2 separate regions of the Homo sapiens genome follow, and region 2 is linked to region 1. Evidence: promoter capture Hi-C in human tissues and cell types (Jung and others, 2019). All regions are on one chromosome and are shown on one strand. Each heading gives the region's core, a stretch centred on a gene start or on the middle of the fragment in contact. The rest is flanking DNA. Distances are from core to core; before and after follow the strand shown. Region 1 holds the start of FAM43A (family with sequence similarity 43 member A). Region 2 overlaps LOC105374292 (a long non-coding RNA gene).

What was found. Contacts are between HindIII fragments. The study calls those that stand out against the background at their distance.
Region 2: a contact is called between a fragment that was not itself captured here and the fragment with the promoter of FAM43A in region 1, in 1 of the 25 tissues and cell types used here (H1 embryonic stem cells).

The regions. Positions count from the first base shown.
Region 1 is chr3:194,681,151-194,687,442 of GRCh38, reverse strand. FAM43A (family with sequence similarity 43 member A) reads right to left here and starts at 1,560. Exons shown (of 1, transcript NM_153690.5): 1 at 1-1,560. The coding sequence starts at 616. It overlaps LOC124909474, which reads left to right and starts at 534. Exons shown (of 3, transcript XM_047449428.1): 1 at 534-1,583; 2 at 2,025-2,105. The coding sequence starts at 1,190. RefSeq lists enhancers at 1-213, 214-719, 1,471-1,830, 4,516-4,565 and a silencer at 541-730. The HindIII fragment of the contact is 10,115 bases long and covers 1-5,869 here.
Region 2 is chr3:194,816,697-194,822,807 of GRCh38, reverse strand. LOC105374292 (a long non-coding RNA gene) reads right to left here. Exons shown (of 6, transcript XR_001741084.2): 4 at 2,077-2,247; 5 at 911-1,154. Among named protein-coding and RNA genes, the nearest start is that of LINC01972, 51 kb to the right of the region's middle. The HindIII fragment of the contact is 3,543 bases long and covers 1,651-5,193 here.

The DNA of each region.
Region 1 (6,292 bases), core at 311-2,810:
CCCGCCGCTTGAGGCGTTTAAATTCCGCCAGCGCGTTGGCCGACGTCTGGTAGAGCAGCAGGGCCATGGCCTGCGCCTTTTCGGGCTTGGACACCAGCACGGCGTGGCAGCGCAGCATCACGGCCTTGTGCTTCAGCTCGTGCCGGTACACCCAGGCGAAGACCTTGGGCAGCCGCGCGTCGGCCACGCAGTAGGTGACGCGGTGCAGCAGGTAGAGGTGGCCCGGGCGGCGCAGCGCGCGCTCCTCGGCGTGCACCATGCGGATACCCTGCGCACTCACCGTCAGCTTCATCTTGGTGCCCTGACGGCCCGCCTCGCTCTTGCTCCAGATCTTGCCCACAGCAAGGTCGGTGCAGCCGTCGCCGCGCGCCTGGATGGTGGTGGCATTGCCCAGGTAGAGCACGGTGTAAGTTGGGTCCTCGCTAGTGATGTGCAGCTTCTTGCGCTTGGAGCGGAACATGCTGCCCACCCGGCTAAGCGCGCCTTCGGGGCACGCCCGCGCCAGCGAGCTGAGCGCCGAGTAGTGCAGGCTCACAGCGTAGCCCTTGGGCTTGGACGCCTGCCGCGGCGGCGCCTCGGCCAGCAGCTCGAACTTGTGCTTCTTCCACGGCAGCATCTCCGGAGGGCGCCCCGGCGCAGCTGGGCGGCGGCGGCGGCGGAGCGCCGGGTGCGAGGCCCGCTGAGCCACCGGCCCCTGCCAGGCTCGGCCCGGGCAAGATCGAAGAATAAAACTACTGGGAGCGGCCCTGTGGTAGGGAGTTGGGGGGAGGGGAGCAGAGAGAGTGCTTAGGAACCCCGCAGGAGGTGCGGGTAAATTCTCTAAAAAAGAAAATATTCAGCTTCGAGTGTGCAAAAAAGGTTGGTGCGGGGGAGACACGCGCGCACACAGAATTACCCCAGCCTGGGCAAGGGCGAGAGCAAAGAGTCTCAGGCAAGCAACAAAATGCAAGGGAGAAAGAACGAGCGTAGAGTGGAAAATGTCAGGAAAAAAGCTAGAAGCGCGCGTGCAAATAAAGAGAGCCCCAGCAACAGCACCCGGGATGGTGCAAGAATATGCAGGAACTCCTCGGCGAACGTGAGGTGGGTCCCCTAACACACACAACCCTCAGGACTGGGGCCAAAACCCGCGGAAACTCTACAGCGAGTGTGCCTAGGGGCCGGTGCTCCCCACCTCCGAGGGGTGCTGGAGATGGAAAGCCCCCCGTTTGGGCTGGTCTCAAGTCAGCAGCTCGCCCAAAGTGCGGTCGGATGCTGGGTCCGGCTGGCCGCGGCGGGCCCCGCGCAGCAGTCCCGCGGGGACTCACTGCATCTTCGCTCCGCCGGACGCCGGGGACTCGCGCTCGGCCCGCTCAGTGTCCGGGCTGGCCTGGCCGAGACGGCGCTGGGCTCCGAGAACAGGGGACGGGCATGGCCGGGTCCGGGAACCGCCGCTACCTCATTTCTTCCCTCCGAGGCGGTGTCCAGCTCCGCTCCCGGGCTCTCCACGGTCTGCTGCCCGCCTTTGCAGTGCGCCCTCTCCGGTGCTGCGAGCGGCGTCCGGCTCGCCTGCCTCACATCCTTGCCGTCCGGGAGGAAGATCTCGGGTAAATATAGGCCGGCGCGAACCATTCGCCGCGCGGGGACAGGGGAGGAGCAGAGAAGAGGATCTGTTTTGGGCTCCGACTCCGGGCGGATTCCTGGTTTCTTAAAGGGACCGCGTGACAGCCATTGGTCGAGGGAGCGGGGAGACCGGTCCAATCCTCCAATTACATCCCAAATTTACCAGCATCTCTTTTGTCTATGGAAATCACTGGGACCTGGGGTTACCCCGCAGCAAAAAGATTTGAATCCTGACACTCCACCCCCCAGGCTGAATTGCCACTCACTGAATACATGTATGTCTAGATCGAAACTTCTGAGGGAGGTGGCAGAAGATGAGATTACAGATTATAATTTCCTGTACAAAAAGTTTGGGAAAATAGTGGTTTCTTCCTTGTGTGACGGCTTTCTGAGAATGACTGGGTGCTGTTTAATATTATTTTCAGAATTGTATTCCATTAAAGAAAAGAGAGAGGCACAGAAAACACCAAGGCTTATCTCTCACTATCTTGAGCTCGTATTCACAGGTAAGCAGCAGACAGTGTAAAGTGAGGTGAGTGGTAACATGATTGGGGTGACTACTGTAGAATACCGTCAATGAATAAGGCTTTTCCCCGTCCGAACCCCGGCAAGACCCCCTCCTGCTGTCAGGCCTCAGGGTAGAGCAGTTTTCTGAGATACACACAATTTCTAATGCTCGTGTGTCGTTAGGACTTAGTTTACTTTGGCAAGCCGGTCATGCGGTTTCATTCTATCATTGACATATTTTGGATGAGAATTCCTAGTAAAAATTCAAATGACGTTTTTTATTTAAGTGACAAATAATGCCAGGCCACCCTCCAATGGGAGTGATAATTGCATCAGTATTGCTTTTATCATGTGCCAACTGGACAGTGTAGTTGTCTTCTGACCGGCTTGACCCTTAGCCAGTAACTCATTTCTGGGCCCTTGAAACAGCCTGCTTGCCTCTATGGTATGGTCAGTCAAAGCAAAAAGACGTATGGCTGGAGTGGGATCAATGTCCGAATGATCCTGCATCAAACTCCCAGCCTGGTCCTGGAGGAGGACAGTGATCCCTTCCCACCATCCCAGTCCCCTGGGGATCTTTGATGTCTCTGGCTTCCACGCCAGGTCTTCATGCCAGAGTCACTGCAACCATACCTGGAAATTCCCTTGGGATATTCCAACAAAATAAAACTGACCCCTGCCCACCCTCTACCTTTGCCAACTTTTAACCTTCCTTTGAAATCTAACTCAATTTTCTCAGAGTCGTTGATGCTGAGTTTCCATTTAAGTTACTTTGCTGAGTTTCCATTTAAGTTACTTTTCTGACTACCTTTTGGTGCCCGGCCCTGAGCTAGGAGCAGACGGGATTCCTGCCTCCTAGTCCAATGAAGGTTGTAAACTCTACCCAACTCTGGGTTTCCACTGGACTGTGGGTTCTCTGCAAGTACCCTGTATCCCCAATATGGTACAAATAGGCACTCAGTAACTAGAATTAATGAGCAAGATATGCATGTGGACAAGAAGACAGAGTGGGCTAAATGCTATGAGAAAGACTCAAAGCACTATGAGAAGCTGGAGGAAGAAAGCATTCATTGTGACTAGGAAAATCAGAAAAGGCTTCATGGAGGTGGTGACCTTTGAAAGATAAACAGAATTTATCCAAATAGGAAAAGACTGAAGGGCTTTATGGGTATAGAGGGTAGCAAAATTACAGAAGCATGAAAATGCATGCATAAGGCCAGGCGCGGTGGCTCACGCCTGTAATCCCAGCATTTTGGGAGGCTGAGGCGGGTGGATCACTTGAGGTCAGGAGTTCAAGACCAGCCTGGCCAACATGGCAAAACTCTATCTCTACTAAAAATACAAAAATTAGCTGGGCATGGTGGTGCACGCCTGTAATTCCAGCTACTTGGGAAGTTGAGGCAGGAGAATCCCTTGAACCCGGGAGGCGGAGGTTGCAGTAAGCCGAGATCGCGCCACTGCACTCCAGCCTGGATGACACAGTGAGACCGTCTCAAAAAAAAAGAAAGAAAGAAAGAAAGAAAATGCATACACATGTAGTAATTAAGATGGAGCTTGTAACAATCAAAGAATAAACCTTCCTGATTGTGTTTTTTGGCTCTCTTACACTCCAAGGGAAGGAATGGCCTCTTCATGGCTAACTGGCCCCACAGGGTCCTTCAACCAGAGCTATAATGCCTTACTCCTCAGCTGCACTGATGGGTTAATGGAGGGATACCAGACATGCTGTTGGAATGAGGTAGTTAGTACTATAATAAGCCATTTAAGGCAACATTAATTCCTTAAATTTCTAGGCTATCTTGTAGTGGCAATGAAGGAGATAGCACACGCTCTAAAGAACAAAAACTCTGGTAAAAACATATCAAATGAGGCTGTGTTCAGTGACCTTTAGTAGGTCCATAATCTTGAACTCCACAAAAGCAGACATCATGTTTAAGCAGTGATCATTTCCAAATCGCTCAAAGTTCCAAGGCTCAAGAGGGTTTGGGGAAGAGGAAGAGGGAGTAGTAGCAGGAGCTAAGGCTGGTCTCAGCCTCAGCGAGAGGCACCACTTTGCACTTCATGCAGTGGCATGGACCCCAGTGGCCCACAGAGGCAGGGAGGAGTCTACTGGTGGGCCGGGCTGTTCAGCAGCAGCCGGAGTGCCAGTCCCAGCGGCACAGGCCCACAGAGCTGCTCCTGTTGACGAGGCTATGTCACGCCTTGACCGCCTTCCTAATAAGCTTGTTTCCAACCTTGGGAGAACAGAAAGGTTCTAGGCCAGTGTGAACACCCTGGTGTGAGTCATGCCCTGGAGGAGAACCCGCGGTCCCCTTGTGGCCTGGACCTGTGCCAGCCTCTAGGGCCCGCCTCACCTTATGGAGAAGCTGACCACCCCACCTGAAGCACACATCACAATTAAGGCTGCGTTTCTTCAGCTGGGAGAGCTGGCAGCACCATGTGGGAGTCCACATCACAGATCTGAGACAGGGCAACTCCAGAACAGACTGTCAGCAAAGTGGAGCTGGGAAACAGGTTAGAAACTGCAGTGTACTTTTTTAATGACACTGCCCCCATCTACTGGTAGCAGGCAGAAATGCTGCTCGGTGGATGGTTTCTCGTCAAACCAGATAAGCTAGTGGTTGAAACTACACACAACCGGGTCGCAGTTGGAAGGAAATGCTGCCATCAGGAGTCCCAGCCCTAAACTTGACATCCAGGAGTAAGCCTTTCATCTCACAGAGGATTTGGACCAGCTTCCTCCCACCTTACGTCTTACATAATGCTCCTTCCTCTCGCCCCTCCTCCAACATCCTACTCAGTGGACATTGACTTCAGAGATGACACATGACGAATCTGGAATCTTCAATGTCATCTAGTAAATACTTGTGGAGAGTCTCCCATGAATGTCACATAGTTGCTGGGGATATAGCACTAAAGAGGACAGATAGAGAGGTCTTTGCCTGCATGGGATTTATAGCCTCTGGTGGAGGCAGGAGGGCAGACAGTAAACAAAAAACTAATGAAATAGCAGATAGTGAAAAGTCTCTGGAGAAAAGGAGGCAGTGCTAGGAGTGAGAGGTGGCTGGTTTAGACAGCATGGCCAGGGAAGGTGGCTCTGGGCAGAGACAGGAATGAGATGAACCTGCAAAGAGATGGGGGAGAGCATTGCAGCCTGTGCGGCCCAGTACGCAGTCACCAGCCACAGGCTGCTGCTGCCACTTGAACCATAGCTGGCCCAAATTTAGACGCACTACGAGTATGAACTACACACTGGATTTTCAGGACTTAGTAAAACAAAAAGAATGCAAAAAATCTTCATAATGTTATATTCATTATATATTGAATGATAGTATTTTGGCTATGTTGATTTAAATAAATTATTCAGATTAATTTTACCTATTTCTCTAGCCTGGTCAACATGGTGAAACCCCGTCTCTACTAAAAATACAAACATTAGCTAGGCATAGTGGTGCATGCCTATAATACCAGCTATTCGGGAGGCTGAGGCAGGAGAATCACTTGAACCTGGGAGGCAGAAGTTGCAGTGAGCCGAGATTGTGCCACTGCGCTCCTGCCTGGGCGACAGAGCGAGAGTCTGTCTCAAAAAACAACAACAACAACAAAAACTTACCTATTTCTTTTTGCTTCTTTAAGGTGGCTATCAGACACCTTGGTTTTAGCCCAGTGAGGCCCGTGTTGGGTTCTAACCTGCAGCGCTGTGAATTTGTGTTGATTTAGGCCACTACGTTCGTGGCAGTTTGTTCCAGCAGCAGTACACCTCCCATCCAGCCATCTTTTCCCTTATCCTGACTCTCTTCCCTCTCCCACTCTCCTCAACACATACGCTAAGTCCTCACTAGTTTCCCAAAGCCACTGGCTCCCCCAGAGCTCAGCAGAACTGACCGGGTGCTTCCCCCACAAAAACGAGGCAGTTAGAGCAACCTCCAGCCCCTGCCAACCTACAAAAAGCACGTCCACACCCAAGCCCACCTCCCTCCTCCAGGCTCCGAAGTCTCTCCTCCCTTCAACCTGCCCCTCTGAAAGCCACCTTCAATACTTACCAAACCACACCTCTGACCTTTTCTCTCTTCCCCTTTTAACCTTCAAAATGGCTTCCCATCAGCCACACGGTACACTCCCACTCCTCAGTATAACACATGAGAATGTTCAGGTCTGGCACCTGCCTATGTCTCCAACCTCATTC
Region 2 (6,111 bases), core at 2,173-4,672, 130 kb before region 1:
GGGGAGTAAGTGAAGACGCCAAACGAGAAGCACTCTTTTAGGAAACTTGGCCATGAATAGAAGCGGAGAAAAGAAGAGGAAAAGGAGGTATGATTGGACAGATTTGAGGACGCTTCTCTTCCAAGCATGAAGAAGCAAGAGGGGTAAGTGGACAAGGCCTTGAATGACGGGCAAAGTGAAGTTCGTAGAGGGTGGTCCTGAGGAAGCTGAGGGACCTGGGTTTCAGGGCTCAGTGCAGAGATCACCCCAGGAGGTGGGCTGCTTTCCCCCCAGGGGGCTAGGACCTGAGATCGTGTCACCTGCCCTCCGTACAGCCCTGCACCTGCATCTGTGCCGTGGAGTGTGTTGATGGGTGGGCAGGCGCTGCTCTTTCCCCTGACCTGCAGCCCCACAGCTAGCCCTCTTTCTCATGCCAGCCTTCCGTGTCCTGGCCCTGCTGCTGGAGCTGCACATGCCAGGCTCTGCCTAAATGCAGATGACTCCACCAACTTTTGCTCCACTCCTCACCCCCAGAACTGTTGTTGTTGTTGTTTACCAACTATGAAGGACCCACCACAGGTAGAGAACCGAGTACTTTGCACACTTGGAGCCCCTGCTTTCAAGACCTCCACAGCCTACTTATCTAATAGTCATTGCATGAATTCCTACATATGTACATGTATAAACATGAAAGCAATGGCGAAAATGCATTTCCAATCATACATATGCCTAATTGTGCACGCTCACCGCAGGATAGACACAAACGCCTCCAATGGGCACACGTATGTCACCAAGACCTCCCCGCAGGACCCTGCTTGGCTACTCTGAGAGCGGCTCTCATGGCCTGGAAAGAAGCCCACATTGACACAGGCCCAAGACCACCCGCCTTTCCCAACACATTCACTCGAGTTTAGGAAAGGCCATGACTCACCTCCAGTTACTGAACCCCGAGCCTTTCCGACATGTGGTCAAAGGGAAAGAAATTGGCCTCTGCATTTTGGAATTTATGCATCATGGAGCTCAGTTTTTGTTTTCCCAGTAAATGGCTTCTCGAAGATAACAGGAGGAGGTGTCTTTCCAATGCTCACCCTCTTTCCCAGTTTTGCTCCAGAAACATCTGGCGCCATCAGTGACTCAGTTTCAACTTGCAGTTTTAATTTCTTCATTTACAAGAGCTATAAAAGAATAGCCAGCAAAGCAGTCACTCCAGTATTTTTAAACTTACACCACTGATGCTTTTGTCTACTAACGAGTGTTATTGAGTATTTGCAAAAAAAAAAAAAATCCAAACTCAGTACCTATTTCAATACATTCTTAACTCAGTACAATTCAATACATTCTTAACTCAGTACGTTCCAATACATTCTTAACTCAATACATTTCAATACCTTCTTAAGGAAAAATTTCTGACATGTGAATTGCTCTCTTTAAGTAAAAAATGTTCTTAATTCTGAATTCTAGGTAAAAATAAGTATGAGGATGACAGTAATAGGCTATTCTGAGATAAAACTTTTTTTTCCCACCCCACGTTAGGCCTTGGTTGAGAAAGTGATACTGTCCCTCCTGTCTTCGAGGGACAGTGAGAAGGAGCCATGTTCATGCTATCAATAGCAAAGCACCCACTCACACGCAGAGACACTGTACAATGGTGTATTAAAATGGTAAACTTGAGCCATCTTAGCTCGAGACCAGATTTCTTAGAGAGTGTGGGCCCCTGGACCCTGTATGCATCAGCCCTACAAAGGCCATTTGAGTCCCCCACCCCACCCCACCCTCTGCTTCCCTCAACCACAGATACCATCCCTGACCCTGGCAAGCCCCCTGCAGTATAGACTGTTCCAGGCCTCCAGGCTGCCATTTTTTCTTCTTCCGTGACTCTTCTGACCCTGATTGTTTGGACAATGTGGGGAGGATTCTCTCCCTTAGGATAAAGAATGGGAGCCCAGTGGGGTTACCACTTCCTATCTTAGAAGGGCATCTGGAAACAGATATTTCTAGAACTGTGGAATCTTCTTGGGGGGCAGGTTGACCTCTTGGGAACCCAGAGGGAGAGAAGATAGCAGGTTTCAACTCATCACTAGCAAGAATAGTACTTACAGGTGCCTTGGAAGGTGGTGAGTTCCCCATGCTGGGGAGACTCAAGCAGAAGCTGTAGGGTTGTTTGTCAGGGATGTCCCGCAGGGGCTGCTCTTCATCAGGACTTTGTGGCCATTCCTGCACCGTGTGAGGTGAAGCCCGGTCCAGCCTCCCCTCCTCTCCATGGTTCTCCTTTGCATTGCACAGACAGGACTCACTCAAGACTCTCCAAAACTCTCAACACTGAGCAAACTTAGCTGTCCTCCTCCTCCCTGTCTAGCCTGTGACCACAGCTCAAAAAGTGACTGGAGCCCTCTCCGGTGCTGAGTTACAAACTGATGTCCTGGCTTTGAGCATATGAAAGGGGTATGAATAGCTTTATTTTACTAACAAGGAAGCAGAGTTTACAGAGGTGATGTAGCTAGCTGGTCCGTGGAAGTTTGGCCCAGGCTCCTGACCATTGGCCACAGTGATTTTTTAAATGCATTCTTAGGTAAGGCAAAGAGCAATGTACATAATCATTCCACCTAATGTAACCTGTTTGTAAACCAAGTTTTTCTTTTTTTTTTCTTTTCTTTTTTTCTTTTTTTGAGACATTGTCTCATTGTCACCCATGCTAGAGCACAGTGGTGCAATCAGAGGTCACTGCATGAGTCTTCACCCACCAGGCTCAAGCAATTCTCCCACCTCAGCCTTCTGAGTAGCTGGGACTACAGCGCGTGCCACCATGCCCATATCCCACTAATTTTTATGGTTTTTGTAGAGGTGGGGTTTTGTTGTTGCCCAGGCTGGCCTCGAACTCATGGGCTTCAGCAATCTGCCTGCCTCAGCCTCCCAAAGTGCTGGGATTACAGGCATGAGCCACCGCACCCGGCCTTTACGGGCGTGAGCCACCACACAGCCTAAACCACATTTTTGAGCACATTTCCCTAAAATGCTATTTAATGACATGGTTTCATCCCCATTTCCCATCCACAGGATTTTTGGTTTCTCGCATTCTTTACTTCCATTATAGGACATGTCGACGAGGGATTACCAGACTTCTGGGAGCTGTACTACCTGATAGTTGCCTGTTGGATTTTGTAATCCATCCTCCCACCCCTTCCTGGGGGCATTCTGTGGAGGACAGTGAGGCCCACATGTACACCTGCATGCTGAGCAGATTAAAACTCGTCCTGTTTCCACACATCGCATGAGATCTGGGGGGAACAAGAAACATTCTGGGTGGTTTTGGATCTTACATCTCGGGTCAGGGATCTAGAAGTAATCCAGGTTGGACAGGCAGGAGCTGTCAGATCCAGATTGGACAGGTGGGAGCTGTCAGGAGAGGCTGTGTCTCATTAGCTCTCAGGCATCAGCGCTCTCAGAACCAGTCCAGAACAGAACAGCAAAACCCAAAAGATCTGGCATGGGAGAGGCAGAACCACCTGCAGGGAAATCTTATTTGTTTTATTTTTATTTTGTTATTTTTTTTTTGAGACAGAGTCTCGCTCTGTCACCCAGGCTGGAGTGCAGTGGTACGATCTCGGCTCACTGCAGCCTCCACTTCCCGGGTTCAAGCGATTCTCCTGCCTCAGCCTCCTGAGTAGCTGGGATTACAGACGCCTGCCACCACGCCAGGCTAATTTTTGTATTTTTAGAAGAGACAGGGTTTCACCATGTTGACCAGGCTGGTCTCGAACTCCTGACCTCAGATGATCCACCCACCTCGGCCTCCCAAAGTGCTGGGATTACAGGCGTGAGCCACGGCGCCTGGCCGGGAAATCCTCTTAACTCAAGGGACATGGAATGCCCCAAAAATACCCCTTGGTGATGATGAGCTTACTGTTTAAAAAAACCAGACAACTAGGCAAGGAAATGAACCTCAGTCTTAGAGCGTCGGCAGCCACAACACAGAAAGGATAACCTGGAAGAGGCTTTACATAAGTAAGCTTAGGAGAGTGAACTTTACATAAGTAAGATTAGGAGAGTGAACGGGGGTGAGAAAAGGGGCCTGGCGAGTGCAGCCAATGTGGTCGGAAAGTTTTACTGTGAAGAGGACAGAGCCAGCAGAAGCTGGTCAGAGATGGGAGAGGATGGGGAACTGTGTGTTACAGGAATGACCAAGACCGGAGACAGGGAGAGAGTGGAGCTGAAACCTAGAGTGGGTGAGGAGAGGGGAGAGGGCTTCGAGTGGGAGGTGAGGGGGTCTCTGTGGGCAGGGGGAAGGCTGCTTGTCCATCAGAGCCCGAGGGAAGAAGCTGGTGCAGATGGAGGGACGGTTCCAGCACTGGGAGAAGGACGACGAGGCTGGTTCTCCCTGATGGCTGCTATTAAAGACATGAGACAAGGTTCCCTGGTGAAAGTGACAGGGTTTAAGGAGAAAGGGTAAAGTATGCAATTATTCCCTTGCAGAGGGGGACAGCAAGCTTTCCAGAAGAACTCTGAAGGGTCTTTGGGCAGCACGGAGGTGTGTGATTTTGAGTGCAACAGAGGAGGCTTGGCAAGAGAATTGAGGGCATTTTCAGGCAGAGAGTGATGACATCAGCTTATTGCATGTGAATGCCCAGAGAACAAGCCACACACTTCGTCAGAGGACCCCCAGATGCCAGTCTCTCAAGGTCGGTTCTTGTCATCTGTTCAGTTTCTCTAGAGAGGCAGAGCCCAGTCTCCCGGGGGGCACGTGCTTGGCTGCAGGTGCTCCTTGGCAGGGTAGGGAGAGGGGCAGAGTCTTACTATCCATTATGTAGATTTCACTGAATCCTCTTGTTTGCAGCCTGTGCGGCACCCCACTACCCTCCATTGATCCTAGTGGCCCTCAAGTCAAAGTCCCTTCTGTTAAACTTATTTAGAAAGTGAATCTCCATTCTCCTGCTGGCTCTGGTGGGAAAGGGCTGGGGAGAGAAGGAGTGTGAGTCTCTGTGTGAGGCGGGGTAAGGAGCACGCACGATCGACCCACAGTCAGACTTGGAAACAGTGCCCCTCTTCTCCTGTCTGAGGTACATCCTGACCTCTGCAGGTTGGGCAAGAGGCTAGTTCAGGCCACAGAGGTGGCTCCCAGCCATTTGATCCAGAAATTCTGTCATCCCATGTGTCTGTGTCATGGTCTGGAAGAGGCTGCAGGGGCTGCTGCTGGCATGGCCCCTGACCCTGTGGATTTCCCCACCTGGAGCTGGAGTAAGGCCTACACTGGGGCCATCTGAAGTGCAGGGTTGAGGCAGAGACTTGGACTGCCCAGCTGTATGGGAGATTCTGCACCTAACGTTCAGTTGACTGGAAGACTAGGAACAACTCACTTTCCGTGTTTATTCTGCGCTTATAAAATGGGAACTGCTCATTCAGACAGGGAACAGGGATGCAGCTTTGTTCCCTAATCCAGATCACAAAACAGATTAAGACAGTCCTGGAGAGTTCCACCTTCACCAGTATCTGCTAGACTCATAACCCATTAGGAGTAGTGTGCTAAGAGGTTCTTTGCCTTTCCTGGCTGAGTTTTATGTCCCAGTAGGCGGAAGAGGCAAGTGCCTTTAGCTCACTGCTGGTTATAAAAGTCAAGCCGATAATGTAAAGAATTCTTATGCTGGATTCTTTGCTCAGCTTCTGACCCCAGTCCCAGGTTCCCACTGGCAATTATATCTAAGTTGCCTTCTCCTACACGTAAAATAACACCTGTCTAGGTTAATACCTATCCCTACAAACTATAACCAAATATACTCGTACACCCAAACTTAGACAAACTTTTACACATACTAAATCTTCACAATCTGTGTATAAACTATAAACTAAAGTACTAACTTAACACAGTCTAATAAAACCCTCTAAAAGTCTACCCCCCGGCGATAATCCTCAATAAAACGTTGAAATAAAACTAACTTTAATTCTTTAAAAGCTTACTTCTTTCTTTAGTCAACAAAACTTAATGGAGCCAAGTGATGGTGTATCCGGACAGATGGAGCAGCAGGAAGAGGCAGAGACACCCACTCAGACCTTTACCCCAGGGGGAAGCAGCGGGCCAGGAGTCAGAATGCTCAGGGTTTGTAGTCAGTTTCCCTCTTACCAGCTAGTGACCGCAGGCAG